Linked DNA regions of Homo sapiens: region 1 is linked to region 2. Evidence: promoter capture Hi-C in 16 types of primary human blood cells and fetal thymus (Javierre and others, 2016). All regions are on one chromosome and are shown on one strand. Each heading gives the region's core, a stretch centred on a gene start or on the middle of the fragment in contact. The rest is flanking DNA. Distances are from core to core; before and after follow the strand shown. Region 1 overlaps DIRC3 (disrupted in renal carcinoma 3). Region 2 holds the start of TESHL (testicular germ cell expressed HSF2 interacting lncRNA).

Region 1 (6,109 bases), core at 1,457-3,956, 830 kb after region 2:
TCGAGGTAGAGATTGACTTACAGGTTATCATAGCATTAATACTCTCCCACTGGGAGTGTCAAAGCCCTGAATTTCACTATGCTCAAAATTGGTTTGTAGAAATGCCACATGACATTCTTATTTGGGTGTATAATGATATGAAAACTTTTCATCAGGCTTTACTGTGGAAGCTGTTGGGATAATATACCACTAAGACCATCTTTTTTCCCAAGTTCCCCAAATTCACATTGATAAAGATTTTCATCTGGTCGCTAGCTACAAGATCTCTTGTGCAAATAAGGACATCATCAAAATTCATTCCAGGGGAAGACAAAAACTGTATGAAAGGTACTCAATTGACATTTTGTACTTTATAGCTGAGGTTTGACTATTTATAACTTTTATGTCGATCTCCATCTCCTGTTTTAAAATATGTGAATTTCAAGTGATGATGTTCATGCATTCATAAGAGTCCATGATACTAAATAGCCTTGCATAACCCAGTTATCTTCTGGGGTCCTCCTACACCTGAAGGTCTAGATAGGATTCCTCAAACCTCCATTCTACATGCTATTGAAGGTACAATTCCTTCCCCAAGATTTCTATGAATTCCTGTGGAAATTGGTTACTTTGCTGAAAAATTCAGCTCAAAGTTTGCAGGAAATGAAAGTAGGGGCAGGGTCACATCATAAGAACATAGACAACCTCCACTTTGACTCTCAGATATTGCTCTGGCACAATTTCCCTGGCCACATCACCCCTCACCCTAACCTATTGCCAACTCACCAGTCTTTTCTTGCATTTCCTCCTCCCATCTTCTCTTTTCTTCTCCCTCCCATATTGCCCTTCACACCTACCAGTAGAATTCCAACTTGGCTTTCTCCAACTCTTGTTCCAAGACTGAGCTCCAAGTCTACTTTGAGTATCCTAACTCAAGGTGTTCCACTAAACAAAAGGATCTTTGATTTACCAGGAAGCCACTGTGGTTTGAAATCGTAATATTTATTTATTGTAAAATATTTTTAGCACGGATTTTATACTGATCATGTTTCATGTGTGTGGAACACACGTCTATGTTGACAGGCCCAGGGAAGCTTCATTTTAAAGTAAAAGACATTTTATAAAACAAACAAACCCTAAAGACACAAAATGTTAAGTGACATTTAAGGTCCCTTAAATGTCAGAGTTATGGTTAATGTTAAGGTTCAGGGATCAGAATATCTCTAAATGACTTCTAATGTATCTTCTCAGTTCTAATTTTCCATCATTCTAGATCATGTACCATGATGCCCAATTAGGAGCATAGAAAAGGCTTCATGGGGCAGGTGCATCTGCGCTAGACCAATCCATCTGGACTAGACTTGCAAAGATAAGGAAGACAAGATTTAAAGAAAAGTTTAATTGATTTCATTTTCCTTTGAATGAATCTGTAGACTACAAGAAATCAATATTGGGACTTTGCTGTTTCTGAGGCATTCTCAATTATCTTTCATCCTTTATTACCTGCAAAATTAAAAGATTCTACTGCAAAGGCCTATCCTTCTGTCTTTCTTTCCTTTGAACAGTGTTGATCGAGGGCCTTCTCTGTTTTACGCAGTATGCTGCCACTGAAAATACACAAGACAAGTAAGATAGAGCCCACCAAGGAAGGAGTTCAAGTTCAATAGGAGAAATAAACAAGGAAACAAGTATAATTCATGCTCAGACCTTCTCTCGCAGTTCCTGCAGCCCAGCCACAGGCTCTGGCCTCTCTCATTCTATTGCAGGTACAACACACAGCCCCTTCTCTGGCACATCTACCCCATGGCCATGCCCACAAACCATTCGGTTATTTTTAATAACTTATATTAAGCCTTTCAGGAGACAGGATCACCCCCCCCCAACCCTGCCAGTCTCTTCTACCTCTTGGCTGCCCTTCACTTCTTTCTCTTTTTTCCTCTCCTTACTCCCCTTTCTCAGAAGCAACACAAATTTCCCTACTTATCCTACACATAGCAGTTCTGAGGGCATCTTTTATCACAGCCTTCAGCTGAGCATGCCCTTGTGTGTCACCCTCCCCCATAGTGACTCAAAATCTTTCTTCAAAATAAATACAGGACCCTCCCTAAAAAAGTTCTGGAGAGGGAGGGAAGCGGGCCTCCATCTGTGCTCAGACCACAGAGCTGCACTCAGAATGGAATGGGTCCTGTCCGGTACAAGATAGAAGAGGCAGCCTGGGTGGGAAATAATAAAGAGAATTCTGGTGGATGCAGTGGATTTCTTGTTCTCAGCAAGACCATTCCAGAAATGTAGGGAGTTGGCCCATGGGCTCGCCAATGTTTGGGTTATGTTTCAACCTTGATTGAGCACCAGAACTGTGCACAGTGCCAACTCCCAAGTGCTTTGAGGAGGGCTGGGTACATCATGCTTCTCTGTTTTTGTTTTTGGGTTTTCCCCCCATGTGCCTGGGATGTTTCTTCCATTAAAACCAGGACTTTTCCTCCCTCTGCGCCTCCACACAGAATCCAGCCCAAGCCAATCAATACCCCTAGGACATGCTAAATCTATTTTAGTGCCAAAAAATATAAATAATTTATTTGAAAAAATGCTGATAACTCCACAGAGAACTTTTTCATGCGCTGTGTCATTTCACTCCAAATTCCTTAATGAGAAGGGGGTCTCTTGCTCAGTGGTGACACGGCAATGCTAGGCTGTTTCTTTAGACATTTCTGCCTAGAAAGAGAAGGAAGACCCCTGAGCACGAAGCAGGTTCTTCCCACAACGTGGTGTGGGAGTCTCTGCTTCTCCTCCTCTGACATACAGCTCTTCCTATGTCCTTCTTATACACAGGATCTGCATCTCAATTCAGAACTCCAGATGTGGTCTCTCCAGCAGACAAGCATTCTTGCTAAGGTATCCTAAATAGAACATTCCAGAAAAACACGATTATTGTCTTCAAAGAGACCTGTCATGTAAAAGATGTATTAAATTTACCCAGCACTATGTCAGAAGAGAAGAATGAAAACGATAGGGGCTGCTAGAAGGCAAAAACATAGTCATTGTGTAAAAAAGGCTTTTAAACCAAAACTAGAATTGAGCTATTCTGAACACCTGAAGTTAGGTATTATCTCAGCTTTGGTCTCCTCAATATCGATTCATAGCATTGATTTGCACGGGGTATTAGAATGTCCTGGAGAAATAACTTGATCCATGGCCAAACTTGGGGTTCAGACACAGAAATAAGCATGATTAATTTGAAGTGTGTAGATAGAACATGTTAAGAGAAGCTCTATTTCAAGGGCAGCAGAAAAGGAGAATCTGTAATGGAGGCAGGAAAATACTGGATTGCGGGACACAGCCCCAGACCTAGGCATCAAGGCTGAGAGTGGAAGTTCTGGGAGAAGCAAGGTGGTGGACTTGCTTTAATCCACTCCAGTCCCAGGGACCCTAATGGCATGAGCATCCCATTGAAAGGAACAGGTCTTGTGTATACATTAAAATAGCCATGATAGCTAAGGACTCAAGCAATTCCTCAGAGAGAACCACAGAAGAGTAGCCTAACAGGAAAAGGAAACCATTTCTATCCTGGCTGGAAAAAATTATCATCAAGTAGCTTGGAGCAACAGGGAGTATGTCAGTTGTCTAGGGCAGAAAGGCCCTGGCACAAGATACAGAACAAGTGCAAGTTCATAGACAGAGCCTGGGACCCAGCCACTGGGACATCAGAACTACTGGCCCAGAAGACAGTAGTGGCCCCAGCTCCAGCAGTGGCTTGGCAGATTCAGACATCCATGTGAGGTAGCCCTTATGGATTTTCACAGAGGAAGTGGGGAGAGTCCTCTCATAACCATCATTATCACAAGGACCAAAATCCTGAAGCCACACAGAGGAAGGTCACTGATATGGTTTCACTATGTCCCCACTCAGATCTCACCTTGAATTGTAATTCCCATAATCCCCATGTGTCAAGGGCAGGACCAGGTGGAGGTAACTGAATCATGAGGGCAGTTTCCCCCATGCTTTTCTTGTGATAATGAGTGAGTCCCACGAGATCTGATGGTTTTATAAGCATCTAATATTTCCCCTGCTTACTCTCATTCTCTCTCCTGCCACCTGTGAAGAGGTGCCTTCCACCATGATTGTAACTTTCCTGAGGCCTCCCCAGCCATGCAGAACTGCGAGCCAATTTAACCTCTTTTCTTTATAAATTACCCAGTCTCGGATGTTTCTTCATAGCAGGGTGAAAATGGACTAATACAGTCACCAAACTATCAAGTTTTGTGTCTGCGTATTTTTAATATTTTTCTAAGGTCATAATTACCAAGGAATAATTTCATACAGTAAAATGTACCCTTTTAGAGATACAATTTACTAATTCTCACAAGCTTGTACAGTTGTAAAATAACTCCTACAATCAAGATACAGAACATTTCCATCACCCCAAAAACATCCATTCATACCTCCTTGTATTCAAAAGCTCCCTTCATTCCCAGCCCCTGGCTACCACCAAGTTTCTTTGTAAGTATATGTATATATTTACAAAAATGTATGTGTATACACACACACACACACATATATATACACATACATATACACACTCACACATGTACACATTTGTCATTTCTTCCAGAATGTCATATAAATTAAATCAAAACCTATATAGCCTTTTGACCTGAGTCTGGTTTCTTTTGCTTTGATAAGGCATGTGAGATTTATCTACACTAATGCATATGTCAGTAGCATGTTCTTTTTCTTGCTGTACTAGTATTATTCCACAGTATAGACATACCACTGTTTGTGAATTCCCCAGCTGATGGACATTTGGATTGTTTCCAATTTTTAATGATTATAAAGGTATTTGTATACAGGTTTTAATATGGAAATATGTTGTCACTGGGTAAATACCTAGGAATGGGACTGCTGGACCATATGGTAAGTATATATTTAACTTTATAAGAAACTGCCAAACTATTTTCCAAAGTGGCTGGCCCATTTGGCATTCCCACTGTGTCTATTACAGTGGCCTCACTGGCATTCACAGGATCTCCATCTGAGAGTGCTGAAGTTCTATTTCTATTGCTCCAGCACCCAGGAAGTCAGAAATGTCCAGAGATGGAATTTTGAAGCCTCTGGAAATAGTGATTTTCCTGTCCCTGTGGTTGTCCTAGGAGGGGCTGGGCAACTGCAAGTCAGGGATGTGATAAAGGACCAGACAGTTTGGCCTTCCAGATCTCTTTCGAATCTGTTTTCTCTGATGCTGTGAATATGAACGTCACCCTAGCTGGCAGTGTAGACCCCACCCTCCCACATTTCTCACCACTTGGCTCACTAGACAAATGTGCATCTCGGTGTTTGACGTCTTTGTCAGTTTGACTGATGTGTTTCAGTGAGTTGATATTTTTTATGCAGTCCATTGGATCTCTTAACGGTTTTTGCAAAGAGGTAGTAAATTAATGACCCACCCACATACTGTTGACCTGTACAGGGCTGTAAATAGTTTGCTCTAATGCTCTCTGCTCTAGCTTCTCCATCTTGGGATAAGAGCACCCAGCCCCTGGAATACTGCAGAGCACCCCAAGAATAGAAATAACTGAGCAGTGAAGCAGGTGATCAGGACCAGGAAGACGGTTTAGACTCTGTCCCCATTGTGCTGGGTTCTGGAGGCTGACAGGTCTGAATTTGGATTCTGACTGTGTTACTAGCTGTGTGACTCTGAGCAAGTCACTTAACCTCTTTGAATCTTGGGAAAGTGGGCCTTCCCTGTAAAGGATTAGAATTCATAGAAGTAAAGCACCTTACATAGAGTATACAACCTCTGGGAAGCATTATTTTTGCTTTTACTGTCCTCTTGCTCACTACTACTACTACTACTACTACTACTACTACTACTACTACTATTACAAGAGACTTTGATCATCTCTGGATAGTGCTGGGAAGTAGCACTAGACATAGAGCTGAGGCCAGGATCCAGAGTCCAGGTTAGGGTGAGAAAAGTGACAGGCAGAGCCAGGTAGGGGAGCGTCTGCCATGGTGACCCAGGGGAAGTGACCCAGCAGCAGCATGGAGAAGATTGGTACTGCATGGTGAAGCCAGTCTGAGATTCCAGACCTGGAACCATTCCCAATGTCGTCTCTGAGCTCTGGGCCTAGAA
Region 2 (5,941 bases), core at 2,839-5,338:
CTTACTTGCTACTTCCTGTGACATCTGCTTTCTTGTGGGTGTGACTAGCTGGGGCTGGTGTTGTGGGCAGTAAAGGAATTTACCAAGACAATCATAGGTAAAGAAAGGCAGATTTATTAGACAAAGTATGAAGGTATGTTGCAAGAAAGCAATGGGCAGCACAGCAGAGAAGGGGCTGTCTGCAAAGAGGCAGGGGCTAGAGGGGAGTTTTATAGGATTTATGTGCAGAATGAGGTTGTGCTGCTGGGTCTATCTGGGGAAGGAGGTCATTATGCCCACAGGTTTTTTGTGTTTAGCCATTTCTCAGAACAATTGTTTACTGTTCTCCTCCAACTTGGGGCCGGCCCTCCCCCCATCTTGCGCCCTTTCCTTGTTGTTGCTTATTAGGACTCCACATGCTCCAGATAAAAAAAATTATGTCTCCCCAGAACCAGCTACATAATTTGTGAAGTCCAATGCAAAATGAATATGCTAGCCTCTTGCTAAAAAATTATTAAGAATTTCAAGATGGTGACAGAAGAGCATAAATCTGGAATCAGTGTGGGTAAGTGGGCACAAGACCGTTTGTGATGCACAGGTCCCGTGACTATGAAGCCCACTCTGTCTCTCCTGCCTCACTTAAGACACTACTTATGGCAAATACCAGATAACTAAATTGAAAAATCCCTATCTTGTTTACCTTTATAATCCAGGAAAGCTGGTCAGATCTCCTATTCATAATGGGAGATTCATGAATACTTGCAAATGACTTACTTCATACTGAGGCTGTGCCATTTGCCTGAGAATGGACTTAGTCTCTTCATTACTGGCTCCATGACCATCTCCCCTCTCCCCTCCTCACATACATCCTCCATCCGTAGCTGGTACTACTCCTGTCTTCACTCCTCCTACTCTTACCCTCAAGCCTTGCCAATCACTGCCCTCTTCCTCTTCCTTCTCCTTGCTCTCCTTTAGTGGTACTTTCTTCTATGCTCCCGTAGGAAACTGGCTGAGTCCTGGGGTACATGCAGCTCTGCTGTATCCTAGTGTGGCTGAATGCACACACTTAGTGCTCATACTTACTGCTGGGAGATGTTAGGGGCCTGAAGGAGGCTTTCCAGTCATTTGCCTGAAGATTGTATTCCCAGCTCTGAGACAGAAGGAGCCCAGCTGCAGAGAATCTAGGCCACTGTGACTTGGTCTTCCCCTCTCTGGGATATCACAAAGGCCATATGAGGTCAGTGAACCAATCTACAAGAGAAGGGCTGAGCAGGGGACCTGAGATGATTTTCTCCAATATTTAGTCAGACTGATTTTCTGGATCCAAGTTTCTCAACTTACCAAATGTGGGCAAATCATTATATTGCTCCCAGCCTTAAAAATCTTCAATAAGTTAAAGAGAGGACTCAGGCTTAATGGCAATCCTGTTATCTTACCAATGAGGAGACTAAACACCTAGTTGGAGATCACCTCCTTACTGGCTCAGAGCTTCAGGAAATAGCTCAAGGATGTGCAAATACTAAACAGTAGAGCTGGGATTTAGATCCACATCTACTTAATTTTAGTGCGTATGCTCTAACTGCTGCCACAGAAGGGATGCAGAGGAAGACGGTCAGTTACCCAGAGGGTGATATCTTTGACTTAATGTTCACCATAAAGACAGCTATCAACAAAAGACTTGAATTCTAACTTGTTATCTATTGCAGGAAAGTGCCTGCAATATGGTAAGTTCTTTAGTGATATTAAGCCATTTAACCCAAGCCAGCAATGGAGTTGAAGAAGGGATAAGTTATAAAATACTGACGTGATTTATGTGGAGGGGTAAAGTTTTAATCCTAGTCTTCTGTCCTAAGTGAATAGTGAATGACTGCTGAGTAGATGCAGGAGCAGGAAATAGATGTGAACAGAAAAAAACTGGTTTTAGTTTTGCATAGGTTGAATGTCTACCAGAGAGGTCCCCAAGGATGCCCTGTAGACAAATTGGATAGAGGCATCTGTAGCTCAGAAGAGCAATTGAGGCTGGGGATGTAGTTTTGGGCACTGGCAAGGTAGAGTTTTGTGTGGTTGAATCTCCAGGGGCAGGTAAGATGCTCTAGAGACAAAGTTATGGGATTTATCAGCCATTGGGTGTTTCAGAGGAGAGAGCAGGGCAAGGAGACCGAGAGAACAGAAGAAAACTCAGGAAAGAATGGGGTTGAAAGTAAGGCATGCAAAACTGGAAGCTGCGACACTTGAGGTGGTCAGAGCACTTTTAGGGGACCTACTAAGCGCCAGGCACTGTGTGACCGCTTGAGGGAACCTCATCTCATTTCTCTGTCCTTACCTTAGGTGACTCCTGCAGAGCACCTGACAATCAGAGAAGAGTTAGAATACATTAAGCTCAGCATCACATATGTAGTTTGAATACAACTCCACCTCCTTCTCTTTCTTTCTCTTCTTTCCTGCCTTTGTTGCCCTACCCAGGATTAAAACCTTAGGTCTTATGTTAAAAGAATGACAAGAGAACTGTAGCATTCTCTGCCTCTTGGGCATCTGCAAGAGGTGGGATATTAGAGGGACACTGGGGGATGCTTGGATGATCACCTCCACCCCTCCACCCACTATGGCCTCAACATGAAGTTGGCCTTCTTGAAGTGGGTGAATCACTACAGCCCTTGTTCAGGAAGTGTGTTTGAAACCAGGCTTTTAAGGAAGAGAGGAGACGACATTTCTTGGGACCTTCCTGCCAACCTGACCCTTCTGGTTGGCACCACCCAGAGCTTCATTACTTAGGCCTGAAGCCCAGGTGTGTTGTTGGGCTCTTCCCCCTTTATGAGGCCCATGTTTCCATGATGCCAGGTGGCAGCCCTTCATCAGCCTTTGGACTACATCACTGTGGAGGTGGCTGGAGTCTCTTTTTTCATGCAAACTGCTGCCCAGTGAAACAAGATGTAGACATTTTGACTACAGCATTTCAATTTCCATATCCCCATCCCCAACCCCAACCTGGCTTTTTAGCCATGTCCTTCATTATTTCCTTCAGGCAACCTCTGTTCTAACCAAACTGGGTTATTTAAAAAGTAGAAAAAGTACAGGTCTTCATAGGAAATTCAGTGATTTGTACTATTTTTTTCATCTTCACCTATTAAACTTCCAAATGTGCTTCAAGACTCAAAACAAAGGCCCTATACTCTATGGTTACTTCTTCATTTGGTCACATTTTATATCTACCAGTAGAAGATGGCTTCTCTGGCCAGATATCAAGCTTCTTGAAGTTGAAGCTATATTTCTGTGGGGCTCTAGGGGATAGGGCAGGGGTAGTAGATTTAAAAAATGAACTGGACTAGAGCTTTAATTGTACTTTTTATCTTGATTTGTAGTAATGGTTTATGGGTGTATACCTAGGTCAAAACTTATCAAATTGTACACTTAAAATATGTGCAGGTTATTGTTTATCAATTATACTTCAATAAATTCACTTAAAAAGTGTACATTGTTCAAATCCTCCCTCAAGATCTCTTTCTAGAAGTAAGGCAATGAAACCAGGAATGTATGCCTAAATGTGTCAGCAGACAAAGGCTTTAAAAATGCTAGACTTGGAGATCAAAATATGCTACATGTACAATAAGAGCTTCTATAATTGTATATATGCCTTTCATGTATTTTCCCCTCAAGATTATCAACTGTGTGTTTGACAGTGAATATTAAATATGTTACCAGTTGAAATTTTTGGTTATAAATGTAATACGAATTGTTTCACAAACAAAACATGTAAAGCAGTATTAAAATTTGGCCAAACAAGTGTTCTGTATCTACTTTAATAAATGGTTATTCTTTAAAAAAAAAAAAAAGCTAGACTTGGGTTTGAAAGGCATAGAGAATTTTGCTTGGTTTCTGTAATTCTTGGGGGTTCCTATGGGCTGGCTGATAGGCAGCCAGCTGATTTAAGGAGTCCTACTAGGCATTTTCTTAATTTTATCCAACATTTCAGTACTGCCCCAACCACTCAACCAAGCTCTCATGTTGACTTTCAGCCATTGTGACAAGGCACCATCAATCATCATGTCCCTTTACCAGGAGGGCCCGTGTCATAAGCCACTATATAAAGGGAATGATGGGTGGACTGCTTTGGACAAATGGACCTGCGGTAGGAGAGAGGGACAACAGTAGGAGCAGGCAGATCTTGCTGTTTCAACCAAAACCTCATGCTGACCAGAGTTGAGGAACAGAAGAAGATGGTGAAGGCCTGCAGGTATAGGTGTTCAGCATGTCATCTGAAATATTCCCCACAGAGGCAAAAAGAAAGGAAATTATCTCTGAAAAGGAATGGGAGGACAAGGTATTGATGACATTTTCTGATTACAGAGGAGACTCTCAGGACTGAGGAATTGTCACCCATGCTTGGCCAATCTCCCAAACTGTCATGCCTCTGGCAAAAGCAAAGATCACCTCTCACCTTCTAAAGACTGGCCCCAGTACTTCTCTAACAATCCCTTCCCTCACCGACACCCACCCACCAATAAAAAACAACCACCCAACTCTCTCCCTGCTTCCCCACAAGTCCTGTGAAGAGCCAGGCTTTCTGTGCTCATGGCTTGTCTTCTTTGTGCTGTAGAGCCTCCCTCTAATCTTGTCCATGCAGTAAAGAGAGATCACACAAACCCTGGACCTACCTCTTTGAGGTGGTACTCTCAAACTCTTTGAAGGTCTGTATTTGATGGAATCTCTGGGAAACTGAGTTGGGAAGGTCCCTATATGAAAAACACGTGGGTTCTTGGAGTGTACATCTTTAATTTTCTTATTTGTCTCTTTAGTCAGCAGAATATGTCAATGTTTTGGTTGAAGAAGCTGCTTGAATCTGGGCTTTTCTGTGCCATGTGTTCTCCCAGGGCCAGCACAAAGAAGGGCTTTTGGTGCAGGCCCAAGACCACCATAATCATCATTGATTATTCCTCTCCACGCCAGTGTCTCTAAATAAACTTTCTCTTCTTTCTCTGACAAAGGTGTTTTTGAGTGTTACTGTTTAGCTGAAGAGTGACGTTGAGTGACCTTAGTACCCTAGCCCTTCATGTAATCAGATGGGTGTTGTAAGCAGAGGGAGAACCATGTGAGTCAGGAGGAAATATGTAGTTTACCCTTTTTTTCCTGTTTGAAAGATTTACTATGATGTTCATGGTTGGGCTTTTGTTTGGGATAAATTGAGATGCTTTCTGGATATGATAAGGGCTTATTTGGTTTGATAGACCGTCTAAACAAGGCCAGTGCAGGCTGAGCCAGGTGAACCACCAGATCACCATCAGCTCACACTTCTCATTCATTTGTTAGCAGAAATGAAGATGCTTGTTTTCCTAGAAACAAGCCCAGGTCATCCATCATGAAGTCCAGGAATTGTAAATGTGAGGAAGTGCAAAGACACAACGTACACTTACAAAGGCATATGTGCATTTGGAATTCTTTAAAGGACAACATCCTCGAGCTTCTCCTGGTAGTATACTCTAGATATAACGTAGTGTTTGGGCAATTTGGGATCAAATAATTCTTACAGCTTTATAGAATCCCTTGTGTAATTAAACTTGAACCTTGTATAACTTATGTAAAGGTACCAAATCATCTCTTACTCACAGCTTGCCTCCCCCTGAGAATCATAAATGCAATCTTTAAAAACCATTTACCAGCAAGACCAAAGCTAATCTGTAAGGTTGGGGCCTCAAAACTCAATTCTCTATTTCCTTTGGAACATGAAAGATGCAGAAACTGCCTTTTTATTGTTCATCTGACTTAGGTGGGCCCCAGGGTTTTGTCCTATTTCCTAGATGTTGATGAGCTTCTTGGGTTTCTTTGATGATTGCTTTTGCTCTTCAGTGGTCACATTTGGCCTTACTCAGTGTAGGGGTGTGGAGAGGTGGCAATTTATTGCTTAAAGATGTTATAGCAGGTGTTCCTGGGCGCAAGAGCAGAGTGTCCTGAGGTAGTGTATGTAGTA

Evidence for each region. Contacts are between HindIII fragments. The CHiCAGO score rates a contact against its expected background, and 5 or more counts as called.
Region 1: a contact is called between a fragment that was not itself captured here and the fragment with the promoter of TESHL in region 2, in 5 of 17 cell types (M2 macrophages, M0 macrophages, endothelial precursors and 2 more). The highest score is 8.2, in M2 macrophages.

What each region holds. Positions count from the first base shown.
Region 1 is chr2:217,696,573-217,702,681 of GRCh38, forward strand. The region is part of intron 2 of DIRC3 (disrupted in renal carcinoma 3); the gene reads right to left. It also overlaps the pseudogene LOC100533848. Among named protein-coding and RNA genes, the nearest start is that of DIRC3, 91 kb to the right of the region's middle. The HindIII fragment of the contact is 3,270 bases long and covers 1,072-4,341 here.
Region 2 is chr2:216,866,684-216,872,624 of GRCh38, forward strand. TESHL (testicular germ cell expressed HSF2 interacting lncRNA) reads left to right here and starts at 4,089. Exons shown (of 2, transcript NR_130782.1): 1 at 4,089-4,297; 2 at 4,773-4,956. It overlaps LOC105373876 (a long non-coding RNA gene), which reads right to left and starts at 1,126. Exons shown (of 2, transcript NR_135525.1): 1 at 898-1,126. The HindIII fragment of the contact is 5,034 bases long and covers 3,222-5,941 here.